5 separate regions of the Homo sapiens genome follow, and all the other regions are linked to region 5. Evidence: promoter capture Hi-C in 16 types of primary human blood cells and fetal thymus (Javierre and others, 2016). All regions are on one chromosome and are shown on one strand. The core of a region is centred on a gene start or on the middle of the fragment in contact, and the rest is flanking DNA. Distances in the headings are between cores, read along the strand shown.

Region 1 (3,813 bases), core at 1,131-3,630, 370 kb before region 5:
CCTCTGCCCCCATGCTGTCTGGATGTGCAATGAGTAAACGGGAGACGAAGATGGGCTGCCCAGTCCCCTCTTCCCACAGGTAGTGTCTGCAGAGCTGACTTGGATCCTGTGAGTGGGAAGGCGCCTGGGAAACTTGGGACAAGGTGAGAATTTCCCAAACCAACTGCCCAGCCAGGCCTACTGAAGCTGTGGCCTTTGATAGAAGGAAAAGCAGCAATGCTGGAGGAGGGAGGCGAAGGTCAGGGGTCCACAGGGGCTCAAGATGGCTGAGCCTGGAGCGACGCAGGGGCTGTGGGCACAGTGACAGGCAGCTTCTCCGGGGAAGTCAAACATACTTTATTCAACATAGGAATGTCTGAACAGGAGGACCTTGGGCAGGGTTCCCTGAACTCTGCTTCAAACCCCACTGGAAACAGAGCAAAGATCATCACGAAAACCCAGGACACCAGGGCAGGGGGGCTGCACAAGGTCGGGTCAGGTCACAGTGGGCCAGCACACAGTGGCCCCGCCCAGGGCCAGCCCAGCCTGGGAGAGGGGATGAGGGCTCCAGGCAGCTCACTCAGAAAAGCCAGGGTAGGAGGAGGGCACCAGCCTGGCCCACTCAGGGAATTCTTTCTACCACTGAAAGCGGTGGGGATTAACTTAGCCAGGGCTGCCACGCCAGCACACGATTACAAGGTTCGGGGTGACAAGGAGGAAGCCCCTTGGCAGGACTGTGCAGCCCTCACAGCCACATGCACGGCAGCCCTGCCAATGGCTTCCAAACAGCAAACCATCAGTGACACTGACCTTCCCTGCCCAGGACACCCCTCCTGAGACCTGGGGCCAGTGTGGTGAGGAGGGGGCACTAGGGGCGGAGCCAGGCAGGCTGCAGGCAGAACCAAGAGGACCCCAGTCCCACACTGAAGACATCATGATTGGGGGTGGGGAAGATCTCAGGGTCTCCATCAGGGAAGAGCATCAGTCTGCACCCTCGGCCTGAGGGTGTGCTTGTGGGCAGGGCCCATGCAAGGCCTGGGAAGAAGCCAACCCCGAGAGAGGGAAGCCCTGTGCACTGCGGAGCAGCCAAGGCCTCTGTTCCAAGCATCCCGGCTGTGCTATGTAGTGCAGGGCATGAACGGGGAGAGAGGAAAGGATGGGAGTGCAGGGTGGGGTCAGAAAGGCGGTGTAGATATCCTATGACCCCTGGGGATGACAGGGAGAAGCCACTCATGATGGCCTAGTTGGGTCCAGCTGAATGCCAGGGGGGTGGGCAAAAGACGCAAATATCATCTTCCTGGACCCACCCCTGCTAATCCAAGAGTGGGACATGTTACCAGTGTCCCCTTCTAGGGAAGAATCTGTATTACTCCCCCCACTACTCCTGCTAGAAACTACGGTGGCAGATGCAGGGAACTCAAAGTCTAGATGTGAATGGCATGGGTGCTCCTTCCATCTACAATGCACGGGGAAGATGAAAGGGCTTTGGGATGGCGTGGGAATGCAGACTGGCTCACCACCAGGAGGTGGGAAGGGCTGTCTGGATGGATGGAGGCTAAGAGGGCAAGGCTGGTGCCCAGTGAGTATGAGTGACAGCCAGAAAATCACTACACTACACACAAAGCTAGGGGTGGTGGGAGACCCAAGGAGGACTATTCTATCTAAATGACTCACAGACAGGGTGACACGAATGAGCTGGTGCCCACAGATCACAACCAACAGGCAGAGAGGCACAGCTGATCACTGTGGAGGGAGGCGGGGAGGGTAGCATGGGGCACACGGCCCTCACAGGGACTCACTCTTCAAACTTCCCTTCCCGAATATGCTCGAAGGAGAAGGGTAAGAACTTGAAACCGGTCCCGCTGTAGAATTTATTCTGGAACTCAACCCTGGAGAAAGAGAAGAAGAAAGCTGTCATTCAATAGAAACTTTGTGAAGCTTTTTAGGACTTCACAGTTGGGCAGGAAAGATGCCCCGTGCCCACCTCACCCCGAGCCTCCCTTCCCTGGGGAAGCTAGAGAAAGCCCAGAGTGCAGAGATCCCACTTTTAAGGCCTGGGATCAAGAGTTCGACGCACGGAGGAAGGGATTTGCCCTCAGTTCCCAATCTTGCTCTGTCCTGCCGAGCAGTGTGTTTATGCACAACTCTCTGCAGAGAGGCATGTGCAAAAAAAGTTCAGTTACCTTGAGCCTAACATCGTTAATGAACAAGTGGCCCCCATCGCCCCCTCCTGGCAGGGGATCACACAGCCCACCTCTAAGGGAAGCCCCTCCAGAGACACTGGGCAAGCACCTCTGTTTGCTTGTTATTTTTCCTTGGGGGAGCAAAAGGGCGAGCTTGGAGTGAATGTTGAAGGCTTTCCATTTAAGGAAGGAAATTCCAAGGAAAGAGGGGGAGTTAGGAGGGGAAGTCTTCTCAAAGCAATGGCAAAAATATTCTCCAACCACAAAAACATCTGAGAAAGAATTCTTCTCTTGGGGACTAAAAAGAAAAAGCCTGAGCTCCCTTCCCAGCAGTTCAGCATCCATGCCTGATGGTCTCTGTGGGGCCCTTTCACTCTCAGGGAGGGTGGGAGGAAGACTGTCCCATAAGCAGAGCGAGGCTGCTTGGCTGTGCTTCCTCCTGCAAACTCACCCTGGACAGCTGCCCAGCAACCAAACCACACCAAATAAGGGCAGAAAAATGCATGATTCAGGGGATAAAAAGGCCAAGGAGAGCTGCCCTGAGGAATAGTTTCCACATGGTGCTGTGTGACCCTGGAGGCACCGGAGCCCCTATAAGAACAGGCAGGCGTGGGGGCTGGGGCAGGCTCCAGGTGACAGGTCACGTGCAGGGTGAGGGCTTTGAGGCGCTTTAAAGCTTCAGGAACCCTCTAGTTCCCTAACTCAGCTTTTACAAATGGAGATTCCTCCCTCCAAGCCAAGAAGGCAGGAATTAAGAGAACAGGGGCTGGGAGGTGGCTGGGGCCCAAAGGTTACAGACTGTTTGCCAGTGGCACTGGGAGTTCCTCAGAGGCCCCTTCACTGGGGTGCAGGCTGAGGAGCACCCCCTTGAAGAAGAGCGCAACCGAATTTTCTGAGTGGGAGTAAAAGCAGTCAGCTTTCTTCCCCACATCCCCACATTCCACAGGGGTGGGCCAAGGTCCTCCAGGAAAAACAGGACTCAGGAGGGGGAGGACACAGAGCTTCCAACTGACGTTAGCTGACGGTTCCCACCAGAGCAATTCCAAACCAGGACCTGGATTCACCCACGTCCCAACACCCCACCAAAACTACTTCTCCAAGTTCCAGCTACTGAGACCACCTCTGAGGGAACGCGGTGGGGCCTAGCAGTGGGTTCCTGCTTCTCACCCACTTGTGTTAGGTTTGAATTCTTCATGTTGAATAGACTGTGTTCCCATGTGGCAAGGGTTATTTCAGAACAGCTGAAACGAGATTTACATGTCCCCTTTTCATTCAACAATACATAGCCAGAGAGTGGACAAGTCACCTGAGGGTCCCAGGCCATTACCTAGGAGTGAATGTCAGCCTTGGTAGGGTATGCTGACCCCCGACTCCAGTGAGGTGTCCAGAACTCTGACCCCCACCCCCTCCTGGCTAATCACAAAACCATTCTAATCTTCAAACTGGGCAAATGGAGCAGCAGCTTTGTTTTCAGATGCCTGTGGGGGCACCGCCCTTTTCTTGGCACCCCTCCAGTCACCTTATCTACCCATGGGGGCCCAGCAAGGAGGAAGAGGGATATATGCCTGGGAGGGGCACATCAATTGTACTGTGTGAGCAGACAGGTGGCCTCCCTGACATACTGCCCAATACTGCCCCTCCCACCAGCTGC
Region 2 (3,514 bases), core at 259-2,758, 290 kb after region 5:
GCTGTGCCTGTTCTCTGCCATCTGTGCCGAAAGAACAGCCGCCGTCTGGGATGTGCTGGCCTCACGTCAGCAGGATAACAGCAATGGCAGGACCACGTGCAGGCTCTTAAAGCCTTACATGATTCACCTTCACTCACATTTCATTGGCCACCGCAAGTCAAGTGGTTATTTGTGACATCACTGGGGCAGGAAGAGTGACAATATCAAGGCATATCTGATTGGGAGAGACCAGTGGGAAAGGACAGTAAATATTTGAAACAGTTTATATAGTCTCACACAGGGCCGGTCATTTCTATGTCCTTATATTGTGCTTTGGTTAGAAACCAAAGAGCAAGAGATGAGGTCACTGGCAGCTGCTCAGGGCCTTATGGGGACAGCTCCTTAGCAGATCCCTTTACCCTGGGCTCCTTGGCTCTGTAGCTCCAGCAACCTCATTTATTTGGTCACTCCACTGGCCTAGGTGGGGAGTATTAACATGAAGGTCATGCATGTGATTCAGGACACCACCTTCTAGGCAGCCAAACACTTGGCCATCTCAGGTGATACCCAGAGGTTGCTTGATGAGCAAGGACCAGCTCAGAACCAAGCAGGGAAGGTGGGTGGCTCTGAGGGACATTCCATCCAGGACTTGCTTGACTTTGCTCAGCCAGCCCCAGCTCCTGAGCATATAACAACATGCCTATGTACAGCACAGAGCCTCTTTCTAAGATAATGCTAGACTTGCACTCCACACTCACTCATTCACTCTTTGAGCTCCCCGCTTTCTAGAGGATGTACTGACCCAGCTATCTCTTTTGCTGAGGGCTGAAGTTGCTTTGGTATTCGATTTGGTATGTCCCTAGATCATCTTCCTCCCCAACTGACAGGTGGTTAATTTCATTCACAGCAGGTCTAGAGTTTTCCCTAAAATTTTGGGAATACTTTGCCTCCCCACACTAAACACGTGTTTGTTTAGTGTTGAACTTTGTCACAGCTTGAGTAGGCACAGAGCTGGCGGGGGCATGGCTGGAGGCTGGAACCTAAGACTCTTGAGTTGGAGAGTGGTTAACTTTCAGACCTCTGCTGCTCAACACTGTAGGACCTGGCCAGTTCCCTGAACATCTCAGGGCTCAGTTTCTTCTTTGCAACTTAAAAGTGAGAACCTACCAAGGTTGTTTTGTGTCCCAATTGAGATATGAGAGGACTTCAAAAGCCAGCCTCATGGCATTAGCACAATTGGTGCCACATGGAATGGTACACGTGGGCCAGGTTCCTGAATCGCCGCTGGGATATGTCCAGTTCTACCTACCTGTAACACAAGTATGAACAAACACATCCCAGCAGTGTGTGAGTGTTCCTCTGTACCGTTGGGTTCATTTCTAGATAAACAACCCAGACATGCGAGTGCAGATCCTCAAAGATTACGTCAGGCAGCACTTCCCTGCCACTCCTCTGCTCGATTATGCACTGGAAGTAGAGAAGATTACCACCTCGAAGGTAACAAAGAAAAAACTTCCTAATTCCCTCACGTTGGACAAGTTTATTGGAGGAAACAGGAGCCACGTTACATTTTGATTATGCAGCTAAAAGCAAACCTAGTTTTCTAGAAATGTTATTTTTGTTTCATAACTAAATTTAACAGACATGCACTAAATGTCAACTAGGTGTTGGGTACTTTGCTAGATGCTGGGAATTGAACTGAGTCAGACACAGTGTCGACCAGTGGGGCTGGTAGAAGGTTTTTAAATGATGGTCACAATTCGTAGTAATAGTAGTGACAGTGGAAAATTATGAAGAAAAAATGAGAAATAATGATAAATGCTTTGAATTTTTTTGCCTTCCCAGAAGCCAAATCTTATCCTGAATGTAGATGGTCTCATCGGAGTCGCATTTGTAGACATGCTTAGAAACTGTGGGTCCTTTACTCGGTGAGCATTGTAGCTGTTTTCTTCTTCATTACGTTTGTTGATTTTTGTTGTTTCCTCCAAACTATAAAAGTAATGCATACTCATAATAGAATATTTGAAAAATAAGGAGAGGTATAAAGAAGAAAACAAAAATTGCCTGTAATGCTACCACCCAGAGCACCCCTTTTCTTCTCATTCTTGGGCAGTAGTAGTACTGTCTGTGGGGAGGAGGGCAGTCACGTGAGCCTTTTAAAACTACAAGTTGATGTGTGTTGCAGGGAGGAAGCTGATGAATATATTGACATTGGAGCCCTCAATGGCATCTTTGTGCTGGGAAGGAGTATGGGGTTCATTGGTGAGTCCATTCGTTGTTGTTTTAAGTGTTTTTTTTTAAACCCCACGGTTCAGCTACACCACTTACTCATGGGGTTGAGTTTCTTTTTCTTTCTTTTTTTTTTTTTTTAATTTTCTTTTTGTGGTTCAGTTTCTACAGAAGAAATGTCATATCCTCTTAATCATTGTTCTTAATCTTTCCTTTCTTACTTTAACCTTTCCCCTTATCTTTATCATTGTTCCTTTGTTCTTAGAAATGATTGCTAGCCCAGGAAAATTTTTTTTTTTTTTTTTGAGACTGAGTCTTGCTCTGTCACCAGGCTGGAGTGCAGTGGCGCGGTCTCAGCTCACTGCAACCTCTGCCTCCCGGGTTCAAGCGATTCTCCTGCCTCAGCCTCCCAAGCAGCTGGGACTACAGGCGCATGCCACCACGCCTGGCTAATTTTTTGTATTTTTAGTAGAGACGGGGTTTCACCATGTTAGCCAGGATGGTCTCGATCTCCCAACCTCGTGATCTGCCCACCTCGGCCTCCCAAAGTGCTGGGATTACAGGCGTGAACCACCGTGCCCGGCCTATTTTTATTATTTATTTTATTTTATTTTTTCCCTTTAAAATTTTGTTTTAATTTAAAGGAAAATAGAATCAGATCCAGCAGCTCCCTTGTACAAAGTCCGCCTCATCTACCTATACAGTGGATTTGGACTAAACTTCCCACTGCTTTGTGTCTACTTTTTTTGTGTGTTAGAAAGATTTCCCTTCCTTAGCCTCTTCCTCTCACCAGGCTTATGAAGCTCTAATAAAAAAGATGTGTTTGCTTCATTTTAGGACACTATCTTGATCAGAAGAGGCTGAAGCAGGGGCTGTATCGTCATCCGTGGGATGATATTTCATATGTTCTTCCGGAACACATGAGCATGTAACAGAGCCAGGAACCCTACTGCAGTAAACTGAAGACAAGATCTCTTCCCCCAAGAAAAAGTGTACAGACAGCTGGCAGTGGAGCCTGCTTTATTTAGCAGGGGCCTGGAATGTAAACAGCCACTGGGGTACAGGCACCGAAGACCAACATCCACAGGCTAACACCCCTTCAGTCCACACAAAGAAGCTTCATATTTTTTTTATAAGCATAGAAATAAAAACCAAGCCAATATTTGTGACTTTGCTCTGCTACCTGCTGTATTTATTATATGGAAGCATCTAAGTACTGTCAGGATGGGGTCTTCCTCATTGTAGGGCGTTAGGATGTTGCTTTCTTTTTCCATTAGTTAAACATTTTTTTCTCCTTTGGAGGAAG
Region 3 (3,766 bases), core at 1,006-3,505, 410 kb before region 5:
AGAGGAAGACCCTGACATCCAACCTGCCCCCCCATCCTCCCCTTCCTACCCAGGCTCCTCCTCCTCCGACTCAGCGGGCAAACTGAGAACCAGTTCCTCCTTGCTTCTTCCCACCACCCTGAGCCCCCACTTCTCTCCTCTGGGGCCATGGTACTTCCAACAGCCCCCTCAAAATGGCCTTCCCCGTCCCCCATCCACTCCCTCTGCCAGTCTCCCTCAGGGGTTACATTCTCAAGGCGGAAGCGGTTGATGGCCATCCCCCCACGATAGGTCTCCTCGCTGACCACCAGGAACTCCAGGGAGGGGTCAGAGCCAGCGGGCCCATAGGGGTCCAGCAGGGGGATGACATCAAAAGTCAAGGAGGGCTTGATGTCCACCAGGAATTCACTCAGATGTTCCACACGTTCTGTATAAGGTTGGAGCAGCTCAGGGAGCAACTTGCCTGGGGAAGGAGCCCAGAAGAACAGTGAGATCTTTTTATTGGGGAGGAGAGTATGGGCCAGTTTGGGAAAAAGTGTCCCTAAGTACAGTATCCCCAGAGGGGGTGGCAGAAAGGGTTCAACTGGTAAGGCCTATGGTGATGGTGAGGGGAGCATGAAGGTGAAGAAACAGGCAAGCACAATAGTCACTCCAAGGGCTGGCATGTGTCCAGAGAATAAGCCACCAGGAAACCACTCCAGAGAACGAGCAGTGCCAGAGGGCATCAGAGGCAGATGGAAAATTCCAAGACCCATGCCATGCTTGAGTTTCCTCCTCCTGTCTGTGGCACTGCTACCTGCAGCTCACTCACCCATTCATTCCCAGTGTCTCATTAGGGTGTATCACCTGGAAAACTTGCTAAAATGCAGATCCCTTTGCTTCACATTTGGGGTATTCTGATTGAGTGGTGACTGGACCACATGCTGAGAAAGCTGTTCATTTGACAAAATGGCCTTAGCACCAATTGAGTGTCAACCACTGTGACATTTGGGAAGGGTGGGAAGTAATGAATGGCCCTACCCTTCCTTGATCTCGGCATAAGGGTCGGGGGTGGGGAGATTTGGGGATCCTCCACCCTAGTCCAGGGTCCCTCTTACTCACTCTTCAACAGATCTTTGTCTGCTACTCCCACCACAAGCTGCTCCTGGGCCAGGATGCACGCGACACTGAGCAACACCTTGTGGGCGTTGTGCAGGCGGTCAAACGTGCCACCGACAGCGCCACGGTAGTAGCCACGCACCGGCTGCTTTGGAGACCCGGCCACGGGGGAAGCTGGCCTGATCGTGGAGGGTAAGGGGACATCCAGGGGCTCCACGGGCACTTCTCCTATCCCATAATCGGAGTATAGCAGCACCGAGGCCAGTCGCGGACAACAGCTGTAACAGCTGGTGGCGTAACGCACTAGCTGCTGTTTGACCGGGTTGTACTGGCTTCCATCCAGGGTCTGGAAATCTGTCAACACGACTTCTGGCGGGTGGGCGAGATTCTGGACTGAGGTGGGCAGGGGAGGGAGAAAGGTGCTCTTGGTTCGGATATTGGTCAGTAGGATTCTGACGTCCAAGTGCCTGTGGACGTCGGCGCCAGCATAGAGGTGCGTGATGAAATCAAGAACCTCAAACGTGGCCTGCACGGGGCTGGACTGGGGCTGAGCCGGGCCCTCCAGGCTCATGCCCGGCTGCAGGTGAACATAGAGTGTGTGATTCACCAGCCGGGCCGCCGAGGTCAGGATGGAGGCCAGGCGAGGGGCTAGGGAGGCCAGCGGCGTCGTCAGCACCAGGAGACCCGACCGGAATACGGCCATGCTGCCCAGGCCTGCGGACAGTCAGGGAGACGAGGCGACGGTGACTGAAGGGCCTGCGGCCGAGGCAGAGGCCTGTATGGGACCTTGGACCCCAGAGAAGGAGGCCTGGAGCAGGGACGGGGTTTCAGTGCTGACCGACAGGAGCCGGGGGAGGGGACGGGGCCTGGTAGACGGCGCCTCGGGGCTGTGCTCTAAGCCTTGGTGTCCTCATTTCTCAGACGGGGCGGTGACTTCGCTGAACTGAGTCGAAATCCTGGGAGGGGGAAACTGGACAGGAACCCTTGTCACAGGGCTGGGGATCCAAAAATCCTGGGCCCTCTTGCTAAGCTGCACCAGGGTCTTCAAGGAATCGAAGAGGGAGGCTAAAGGGGGACGCTAAAGCTCACGTCGGCCCCCTACTCACTGAAACCTCAAGGCTTGGGTTCCACTTGCACCACCGCGGAGGCTTCCCTGGCTGCAACCCGGAAGCACTAACGGAGAAACCGCAACTCGGAACTACGGAAACGGAGGAAGGTCAAACGTCTCGACTTCGCTTCAGCGCGGGATTCTCGCGAGATTTCCAGTGGCATGGGCTGTGTCCTGCTGATGGGGTGGGGCTGATCCCGAAGGCTCTGGGAGTGGGTGAAGCCTTGATGCCGATCGGACCCCCGCTGGGACCGGGCGGAGAAAGGCAAGGCAGGTTTCAAAGCCCATTTCACAGATTCCCTTCTGGCCTGATGAGGAGAGATTAGTTTCAGCCAGGCCACCCAAGAGGCATCGGCAAAGCCAGAACTAACACCCAGATTTCCTTCATTCCAGGGACAGAGGTGGGGAATCACAGGGCTGCGCTGTATTAGCCCTCCTAGTACCCTCTCAGTCCGAGGATTCTCACATGGGAGGCTACTGGACAGGTCTGTCCACGTACCCATTTCACAGATGGAAAAACTGAGGCCTTGTGTGTACCTGGCTGCTGTAGGAGGCTCTCGCACCACCCAGATCCTCTGATGCGCTTGTTTGCGGGGTCTCTGTGGACAGGAGAAAAAGGCAAAGGCTGATTGGGCGCGGTGGCTCACGCCTGTAATCCCAGCACTTTGGGATGCCGAGGTGGGCAGAGCATCTGAGGTCGGGAGTTCGAGACCAACCTGACCAATATGGAGAAACCTTGTCTCTACTAAAAATACAAAATTAGACGAGCGTGGTGGCGCATGGCTGTAATCCCAGCTACTCAGGAGGCTGAGGCAGGAGAATCGCCTGAACCCGTGGGCGGAGGTCGCGGTGAGCCAAGATTGTGCCATTGCACTCCAACCTGGGCAACAAGAGCGAAACTCCCGGCCGGGCGCGGTGGCTGACGCCTGTAATCCCAGCACTTTGGGAGGCCGAGGCGGGCGGATCACGAGGTCAGGAGATCGAGACCATCCTGGCTAACACGGTGAAACCCCGTCTCTACTAAAAATACAAAAAAAAATTAGCCGGGCATGGTGGCAGACGCCTGTAGTCCCAGCTACTCGGGAGGCTGAGGCAGGAGAATGGCGTGAACCCGGGAGGAAGAGCTTGCAGTGAGCCGAGATCGCACCACTACACTCCAGCCTGGGTGACAGAGTGAGACTCCGTCTCAAAAAAAAAAAAAAAAAAAAAAAAGCGAAACTCCCTCTGGAAAAAAAAAAAGAAAAAAGAAAAAGGCAAAGGCTGGATACCTAGTGTGGGAGATTTACTGCGAAGCTAATGGGCGCTTGAAAGGCTGAGTGTGGAGGGGAAGCCAGGTTGCTATTAGAATACATCTCAGGTAAGTTGTGCATGGAGATCAAAAGGGAGAGAAGCCAGTCTCCAAGATTCCAGTAATGTGCCGTGGTATCCGAAACTTAAAAAAAAAAACAAAACTCACTTTTATATGTAATTTTGTGTTTATCTTTTGTATTCTTGAAGACGGTCTCCAAAAGCAAATAAGCCCCCAGCCCCACAAAACCTGGGCTTATGATGGAGAAAAGGAGATGCTATTTTAGATAAGGT
Region 4 (3,533 bases), core at 185-2,684, 340 kb before region 5:
CAGCATCCAAGGTACACACAGTAGTGCAACCACTACCAGGAAACACTGAATTCCTTTCTGCAGAGTAAGAAGAAGGACAAGGTACATCATATAAAAGTCTACCGATCACATACGCAGTTTCCAAATATGGCACAAATTTCCCCCAACAGTACTTTCTTACTAATCTATGAATAACACTATCCAATTTCTCAAAATAATTATCACATTTTGTGGCAAAGCCCTAGAATTGTCCCATAGAAGGGCAGTTATAAATTTTTTAGGGTCAGAGAAACATCTGGCTTCCTGATCAAGTATAATCATCTCAGACAGTCTGCCTCTGGGCTGACGTACCTGTCCAGAATACAACATTGAATAACCAGACTCTGGGTAGGAAAAGAGGAACATGTTTATGAAATGGATCAGAAGGCTTGGTGCATTCTCAGAGGTATGAGCATCATAGGCCGTCCACTTGTAAAAAATAAGGATAACCAAATAGCCAAACAAAGAGGTCATGAAGATTATTTCAGGAATAAATCCAAAGTAGATATTCAGGGGCTTCTTGAAATAGCTAAAAAGGAGAGAGAAAAAAATGTTAAGGGTAAATGGGCCTAGGGCCACTCCTACACTGAATGGAGTATTCACTAGATTTTTCTACTTAATACCCCCTCAATTCTGTCTTTATCACTTTAAGCAGCAGCAACCAGAAGCTGGAGACAACAGAGACAATGCAGGATTAACTATCACGGTCAAACTTTTGAACCTTGGTTTTGTTTTGCTGTTGCTTTTTCTTTTTTGAGACAGGGTCTCACTCTGCTACCCAGCCTGGAGTACAGTGGTGCAATATTGGCTCACCGCAGTCTTAACCTCCCTGGGCTTAGGCAATCCTCTTACCTCAGCCTCTCGAGTAGCTGGGACTACAGGCATGCGCCACCACACCCAGCTAATTTTTACATTTTTTTGTAGAGATGGGGTTTTGCCATGTTGCCCAGACTGGTCTTGAACTCCTGACATCAGGTGATCTGCCCGCCTTGGCCTCCCAAAGTGCAGGATGACAGATGTGAGCCATTGTGCCAGGCCTTAAACTTTTGAACCTTGAACGGCTCCAATACCATCCCCACCATTCTCTCCATGAGAAAGAGAATGGAAAAATCTAGTACATTTTGAGACCACAGTTCATAACTTTTTTTTTTTTTTTTTTTTGTAGAGATGGGGTCTTTTGCCGTGTTACCCAGGCTTGTCTTGAACTCTTGGGCTCAAGTGATCCGCCTGCCTTGGCCTCCCAAAGTGCTGGCATTACAGGTGTGAGCCCCCACACCCAGTCCACAGCTAATAATTTTATGTGAGTTGCACATCAAGGAAAAAAAGAGACCTCACTTATTTTGATGAAAATTGCTCAAGTTTTTTTCAAGGATCTTTACTGGAACAGTAAATTGTTAAAGGACTAATATTAAGTCTAATTTAAGACCATCAACATTTTTTTTTTTTTTGAGATGGAGTCTTGCTCTGTCACCCCGACTGGAGTGCAGTGGTGTTATCTTGGTTTACTGCAACCTCTGCCTCCTGGGTTCAAGCAATTCTCCTGCCTCAGCCACCAGAGTAGCTGGGATTACAGGTGCACGCCACCACACCCGGCTAATTTTTTGTATTTTTAGTAGAGACGGAGTTTCACCATGTGGGCCAGGCTGGTCTTGAACTCCTGACCTCAAGTGATCTGCCCGCCTCATCTTCCCAAAGTGCTGGATTACAAGTGTAAGCCACTGCACCCGGCCAGACCATGAAATTTATTTATTTATTTATTTTTTTTGAGGCAGAGTCTCACTCTGTCGCTCAGGCTGGAGTGCAGTGGTGCCATCTTGTCTCACTGCGACCTCTGCCTCCCAGGTTCAAGCAATTCTCCTGCCTCAGCCTCCCGAATAGCTGGGAATATAGGCGCGTGCCACTACACCTGGCTGATTTTTGTATTTTTAGTAGAGACGGGGTTTCATCGTGTTGGCCAGGCTGGTTTCGAACTCCTGACCTCAGGTGATCCACCGGCCTTGGCCTCCCAAAGTACTGGGATTACAGGCATGATCCACCGCGCCTGGCCACACCATTAAATTTTTAGAAAAGCACTTCTATAATGTAGAATGAGGTTCTGAGTTATTAATCCCTCCCCAAAGATGTCATGATTTCTTTACACAAAAGCATTCTCTAAACTATGCACATTCTTATGACAGAAATGGAACAACTCACATATGGTTGAACAGACTCAGGCTGACTCCAAACAGCATATGGATGATACCAAGGATAACAGACATCTTCATCTTAAAGGAGTTCAAGAACGTCAGTTTATTGGTAGCAATGTTCCAAATCTGTCATAACCCGAGAAAACAAATAGGTATTATAAAGAATTCTCAAAGGGAAAAATATTCCTCTGTTTAAAAAACAATTTTTATTTATTTATTTATTTAGAGACGAGTCTCGCTCTGTCACCCAGGCTGGAGTGCAGTGGCGTGATCTCAGCTCACTGCAAGCTCTGCCTTCCGGGTTCACGCCATTCTCCTGCCTCAGCCTCCCAAGTAGCTGGGACTACAGGTGCCTGCCACCACGCCCAGCTATTTTTTTGTATTTTTAGTAGAGACAGGGTTTCACCGTGTTAGCCAGGATGGTCTCGATTCATGACCTCGTGATTCGCCCGCCTCAGCCTCCCAAAGTGCTGGGATTACAGGCGTGAGCCACCGCGCCCGGTCGACAATTTTTATTTATTAATCAATATTATTTATTATGGAAAATTCTAAACAGATACTTAAGCAGACAGGATGGTACAACAAACTCCCAGGCACCTATCACTCTGCTTCGACAAAATTTTTTTTTTTAATCTTGCTTTTGAGGAGAATGCTTCAAAAATTAACATCACCTTATAGTCATGAAAAAAGATTACTGCCACTCACTCATCTCCACATTACTAAAAAGTCCAGATATCATGTCATTTTACCTGTAAATATTTCAGTGTGGATGTCTAAAAGGAAAAGACTTATTTATTTATTTATTTATTTATTGAGATGGAATTTCGCTCTTTTTGCCCAGGATGGAGTGCAGTGTTCATGATCTCGCTGACTGCAACTTCCACCTCCTGCCTTGCCTCAGCCTCCCAGGTAGCTGGGATTACAGGCACAGGCCACGATGCCCAGCTAATTTTGTATTTTTAGTAGAGATGGGGTTTCACCATGTTGGCCAGGCTGGTCTCAAACTCCTGACCTCAGGTCTGGCCTGAGGCTTGCCTCGGCCTCCCAAACTGCTTGGATTACAGGCTTGAGTCACTGCGCCCGGCCAGTAAGGCTTTTTTTTTTTTTCTTTTTTTTTTGAGATGAACTCTCGCTCTGTCACCCAGGCTGGAGTGCAGTGGTGAAATCTCGGCCTATTGCAAGGTGGGGTTTTCACCATGTTAGCCAGGAAGGTCTCGATCTCTTGACCTCATGATCCGCCCGCCTTGGCCTCCCAAATTGCTGGGATTACAGGCGTGAGCCACCGCGCCCGGCCAGGACTTATTTTTAAAACATGACCACAATATTGTC
Region 5 (3,794 bases), core at 251-2,750:
GCTTGTCACCAGCCAGAACCTGCTAGGAATCCCACTCTGCCCCATCCCCTCTGTCCTCCCAACAAGCCCTCTCTTCCCTCTTCCTTTTCACTTCTCATGAACACTGGCGCGGAAGTGGGGATTGTGTGTTATGGGTGTAAGAAAGAGAGACGCCCTGATGACCAGATGGAACTAGATGTGGGCACAGTTTTGTGGCAGGTTGTCCAAGACAGGTAAATTCTCCAGCTGAGGCTCCAGGATATGCCTGGTGTTGGCGTTATAGGCACAATGGCCACAGCTGTCTCCGGTGAGCTTTGATTCCACACAGGTTTTCAGTAGTGTCCCTTGAGGATGAGATGCAAAAGAAGAGGAGGTACTGGTTTGTGTTGAGAGGTAAGGGTGGGAGGAATCAGGAGCGGGCCCAGTCCATATTGAGAGGAGCAGAAAAAACAAATATTCCTGATCCATAGAGGGGGAGAGTGCAGAGTGGGGGTGGTTCTAGTCTTTATTTACGGATGGAGAGGGCCGAGGCAGAGGTTGTCCAGCTCTGTATTCCGCGTCAGAGAGAAGAGCTGACCCTGGCTAGGAGCAGGGGAAGGCAGAGGCAGAGATGGTCTTTGTGCCGGCCCCCGCACACACCAAGTAGGAGGTGGTGGCAGAAGCTCTCCCTTTGATCTCACCCAGCATCCTGCAGAGAACTCTTCCTGCAGCGCTTTCCTCACCTTCCCAATCACAGACGCCCCTGGCAATCGGGCGGACAGTGCAGACAAGGGCTTCTCCAGATCAGCGAGTTCACAGGACTGAGGCCTCGCGTGCATATTCATTCGCACCACGTTTTTTCTTTCCCAATTCTGCACACACAATCCTCTGCCTTCTTCCAACGCTCCACCACCCGCCTTCCCTCGGGGCGTCCGGAACCGGCGGTGACGCGGATGGCAGGGTTAGCCTTAAAAAGTTCCCGGCCGTAGGCTGGGCGCGGTGGCTCAGGCCTGTAATCTCAGCACTTTGAGAGGCCGAAGAGGGCGGATCACCTGAGGTCAGGAGTTCGAGACCAGCCTGGCCAACATGGCGAAACCCCCGTCTCTACTAAAAAATACAAAAATTAGTCGGGCGTGGTGGTGCGTGCCTATAATCCAGCTCCTCGGGAGGCTGAGGCAGGAGAATCGCTTGAACCCGGGAGGCAGAGGTTGCAGTGAGATCGCACCACTGCACTCCAGCCTGGGCGACAGAGTAAGACTCCGTCTCAAAAAAAAAAAAAAAGTTCCGGCCGGGCTCCGCCTCGCAGTCAGCCGGCTCCACCCTAAGCCCAAGTCCCAGGCAGCCACTGACTCCTCCCAGCGCTGCGAACTACAAGTCCCGCGATCCCTCGCGCGCTCCCTACCGCCACTCCCGCGTTCCTACCGGCGCCGCTGGGTAGGTCGGCCAAGAGTGCCTCCCATTGGTCTCCGCACTGTCAATCACCTGGGAGTATTGAGGGGCGGGGCGGAGGTGGAGATCCGGATCCGGAGCGGCTGAAAGGCGGAAGTGGAGGCCGGAGCCTGGGACACCGCCGGCGGGGAGAGAAGCGGATCCCGTCCGAGCCCCGGCCCCAAGTAACGCCGCCGCCCCGGAGCCGCCGTGAGTATGCTTGTCCCAGGACCTGGTGTCTCGCCTGCGTTGAAGCATCTCCAGGGCAGCCCTTCCTCCCGCCCAGCCCCAGTTTAGGGGGATACTGACCCCTCCCCCGACCCGTAGCCCCCTCTTGAGGGGCTCCCCAGGCGTCGGGCCATAGGAGGTGGGGAGCTTCTTTCCTTAGCTTACCTGCCTTTGGTGAGCCTTAAGGAAACCGCTATGACTGTCCTCTGGCCTGTCCATTCTAGTTGTGGGAGAGAGGTACCCTAAGTTCCGCTCCCCCTGCTTCCAGAATCGGAGGATCTTTGCTAGGTGTGAAGGAACCTGTCCCTCTTCTCTTTTAGAAGTGACAGGGAGTGCTGTCTGTCGCCGTTTTCCTTCCTCCTGTCCCACAAAACCAGTTGTCCCCTCTAGCCCTAGAGGAATATCTCGATTTCCTTTGGGGGAGGGGGGTCGTCTGGGTGAGACCGTTCCACACGCACAGAAGTGTGTGTGCGCTCCCGCAACTCCTTACTTCCTCTCTTTCCTCAAGCCAGAGAACCAACCAGGACCTCAGCTGAGTTTAAAGTCACTTACTAGAAATGAGCTGTTTTCCTGTTTTGCCCCTTCTGTCTCCCAGCCCTGTCCTCTAGTTATGTTGTTCTTTGAGTGTCTCTCTCTTTCTGCCTCTGAAGAATTTAGCTGAGGTTTGCTCAATCCTAGCTACAGATCACAGATCAGGGTGGATGTGCCCATTCATTATCTTCTTTCCCCTCCCCCCTTGCTCCAGGCTCAGCTCTGTCCTCCCAGAGCACGTGAGTGGTTTCCCAGCCGCCTCAAAGGGACTGCTTTTCTTGGGACTGCTGTCCGTGTGTCTATAGGGAGGAGAATAAGACCCAAAATGAGGAGTCTGGAATTGAAGGGCCATCTCTTTCCCACTCCCAAACACACACACATACACCTCCCTGAGCAACAGGTCCACACCACGCCAGGGTCTGTCTGCAATCCCTTCAGGGCTTGGACTTATTACTGAGGACTAAGTCAAGATCACAATGGCAGTTCTGGATTTTTAATTGTAGCCTGAGGAATTCCGATACATGCCAGAAAGTGCAGGTTCCCTCAACCATATTGACTGATCCTTGTCTGTTGCTTGGGGCTTAGGTGTGTGAAATAGCTGCTGTCTCAGACCAAGCTTTGTTATGTGGCCAAAGTACAGGCCGGAGACTGTACCTTAACGAGGAGTAGCCTGGCTCTGAGGCCATGACTGACCCTTGCTATCTACAGTGGAGGAAGGGACGGAAAGCCGTGCAGTTTGTGGGAACTTCTGTAGCTCTTCAGTGTTCTGGGCTACCTTTACCACCCTCGCTTGCCACTTAAAAGTGCTGTGTTTTTTGGCCTTGAGGTGTGTTTGAGGGCTTCTGGACAGTGGCTAGTATCTGATTCCTACAGTCTTTTGAGTAGAGCTAGGATGTACTTTCTTCACTTTTTTGTTTGTTTGTTTTTGAGATGGAGTCTTGCTCTGTCGCCCAGGCTGGAGTGCAGTGGCGTGATCTTGGCTCACTGCAACCTCTGCCTCCTGGGTTCAAGCAGTTCTCTTGCCTCAGCCTCCTGAGTAGCTGGGATTAACAGGCGCCTGCCACCACACCCGGCTAATTTTTGTATTTTTAGTAGAGATGGGGTTTCGCCATGTTGGCCGGGCTGGTCTCGAACTCCTGACTTCAGGTGATCCACCCGCCTCAGCCTCCCAAAGTGCTGAGATTACAGGTGTGAACCACCGTGCCCGGCCTACTTATTTCACTTTTTATCGGACAACAGAAGAAGCCTTCCTTATTAGGGTCAACAGCTGGATCACAGGCTCTGTATCTGTGTGGGTTCCTTTGGGGTTCATTGGAGACTTCTTCAACCAACCTAGTTTCTCTGATCTGGTCAGCCTGGGCATCTGAGGGGCAGGGCCAGAGAGGCCTGACTGCTCACTGGCCATTGGTCTCTGACCAGACTTAGGTCTTCAGGAGTAGACCGCAGTTTGTCACTCTTCAGGAGTGCTGGGATGAGGCCGACCAGCCTTCTGAGGAGACCTTCTTTTCTTTGTCTGGACATGCTCTCCCAGCTCTGACTCTGAAACGACTTTTTTTTTTTTTTTGGAGACAGAGCCTTGTTTTGTCACCCAGGCTGGAGTGCAGTGGCACAATCTTGGCTCACTGCAGCCTCTGCCTCCCGAGATCAAG

What was found. Contacts are between HindIII fragments. The CHiCAGO score rates a contact against its expected background, and 5 or more counts as called.
Region 1: a fragment that was not itself captured here is called in contact with the fragment with the promoter of RAB5C in region 5 in 2 of 17 cell types (fetal thymus and endothelial precursors); the score reaches 5.6 in fetal thymus.
Region 2: a fragment that was not itself captured here is called in contact with the fragment with the promoter of RAB5C in region 5 in 2 of 17 cell types (erythroblasts and monocytes); the score reaches 5.6 in erythroblasts.
Region 3: a contact is called between the fragment with the promoter of COASY here and the fragment with the promoter of RAB5C in region 5, in 2 of 17 cell types (neutrophils and naive CD4 T cells). The highest score is 7.4, in neutrophils.
Region 4: a fragment that was not itself captured here is called in contact with the fragment with the promoter of RAB5C in region 5 in 1 of 17 cell types (activated CD4 T cells); the score reaches 5.9 in activated CD4 T cells.

The regions. Positions count from the first base shown.
Region 1 is chr17:42,519,082-42,522,894 of GRCh38, reverse strand. It overlaps ATP6V0A1 (ATPase H+ transporting V0 subunit a1), which reads right to left. Exons shown (of 22, transcript NM_001130021.3): 22 at 316-1,868. The coding sequence ends at 1,775. Among named protein-coding and RNA genes, the nearest start is that of MIR5010, 6.8 kb to the right of the region's middle. The HindIII fragment of the contact is 921 bases long and covers 1,920-2,840 here.
Region 2 is chr17:41,867,436-41,870,949 of GRCh38, reverse strand. ACLY (ATP citrate lyase) reads left to right here. Exons shown (of 29, transcript NM_001096.3): 26 at 1,363-1,476; 27 at 1,825-1,907; 28 at 2,165-2,241; 29 at 3,046-3,514. The coding sequence ends at 3,140. Among named protein-coding and RNA genes, the nearest start is that of KLHL11, 3.8 kb to the right of the region's middle. The HindIII fragment of the contact is 3,639 bases long and covers 1-3,327 here.
Region 3 is chr17:42,560,637-42,564,402 of GRCh38, reverse strand. COASY (Coenzyme A synthase) reads right to left here and starts at 2,255. Exons shown (of 9, transcript NM_025233.7): 1 at 1,081-2,255; 2 at 228-442. The coding sequence starts at 1,780. RefSeq lists enhancers at 1,730-1,919, 1,930-2,179. The HindIII fragment of the contact is 14,901 bases long and covers 1-3,766 here.
Region 4 is chr17:42,497,721-42,501,253 of GRCh38, reverse strand. It overlaps ATP6V0A1 (ATPase H+ transporting V0 subunit a1), which reads right to left. Exons shown (of 22, transcript NM_001130021.3): 15 at 2,212-2,330; 16 at 331-547; 17 at 1-57. Among named protein-coding and RNA genes, the nearest start is that of MIR548AT, 4.7 kb to the right of the region's middle. The HindIII fragment of the contact is 9,207 bases long and covers 1-3,533 here.
Region 5 is chr17:42,152,695-42,156,488 of GRCh38, reverse strand. RAB5C (RAB5C, member RAS oncogene family) reads left to right here and starts at 1,500. Exons shown (of 6, transcript NM_004583.4): 1 at 1,500-1,596. RAB5C-AS1 (RAB5C antisense RNA 1) reads right to left here and starts at 2,089. Exons shown (of 3, transcript NR_187282.1): 1 at 1,780-2,089; 2 at 1,381-1,490; 3 at 1-721. RefSeq lists enhancers at 1,232-1,341, 1,224-1,518, 1,428-2,048. The HindIII fragment of the contact is 7,588 bases long and covers 1-2,763 here.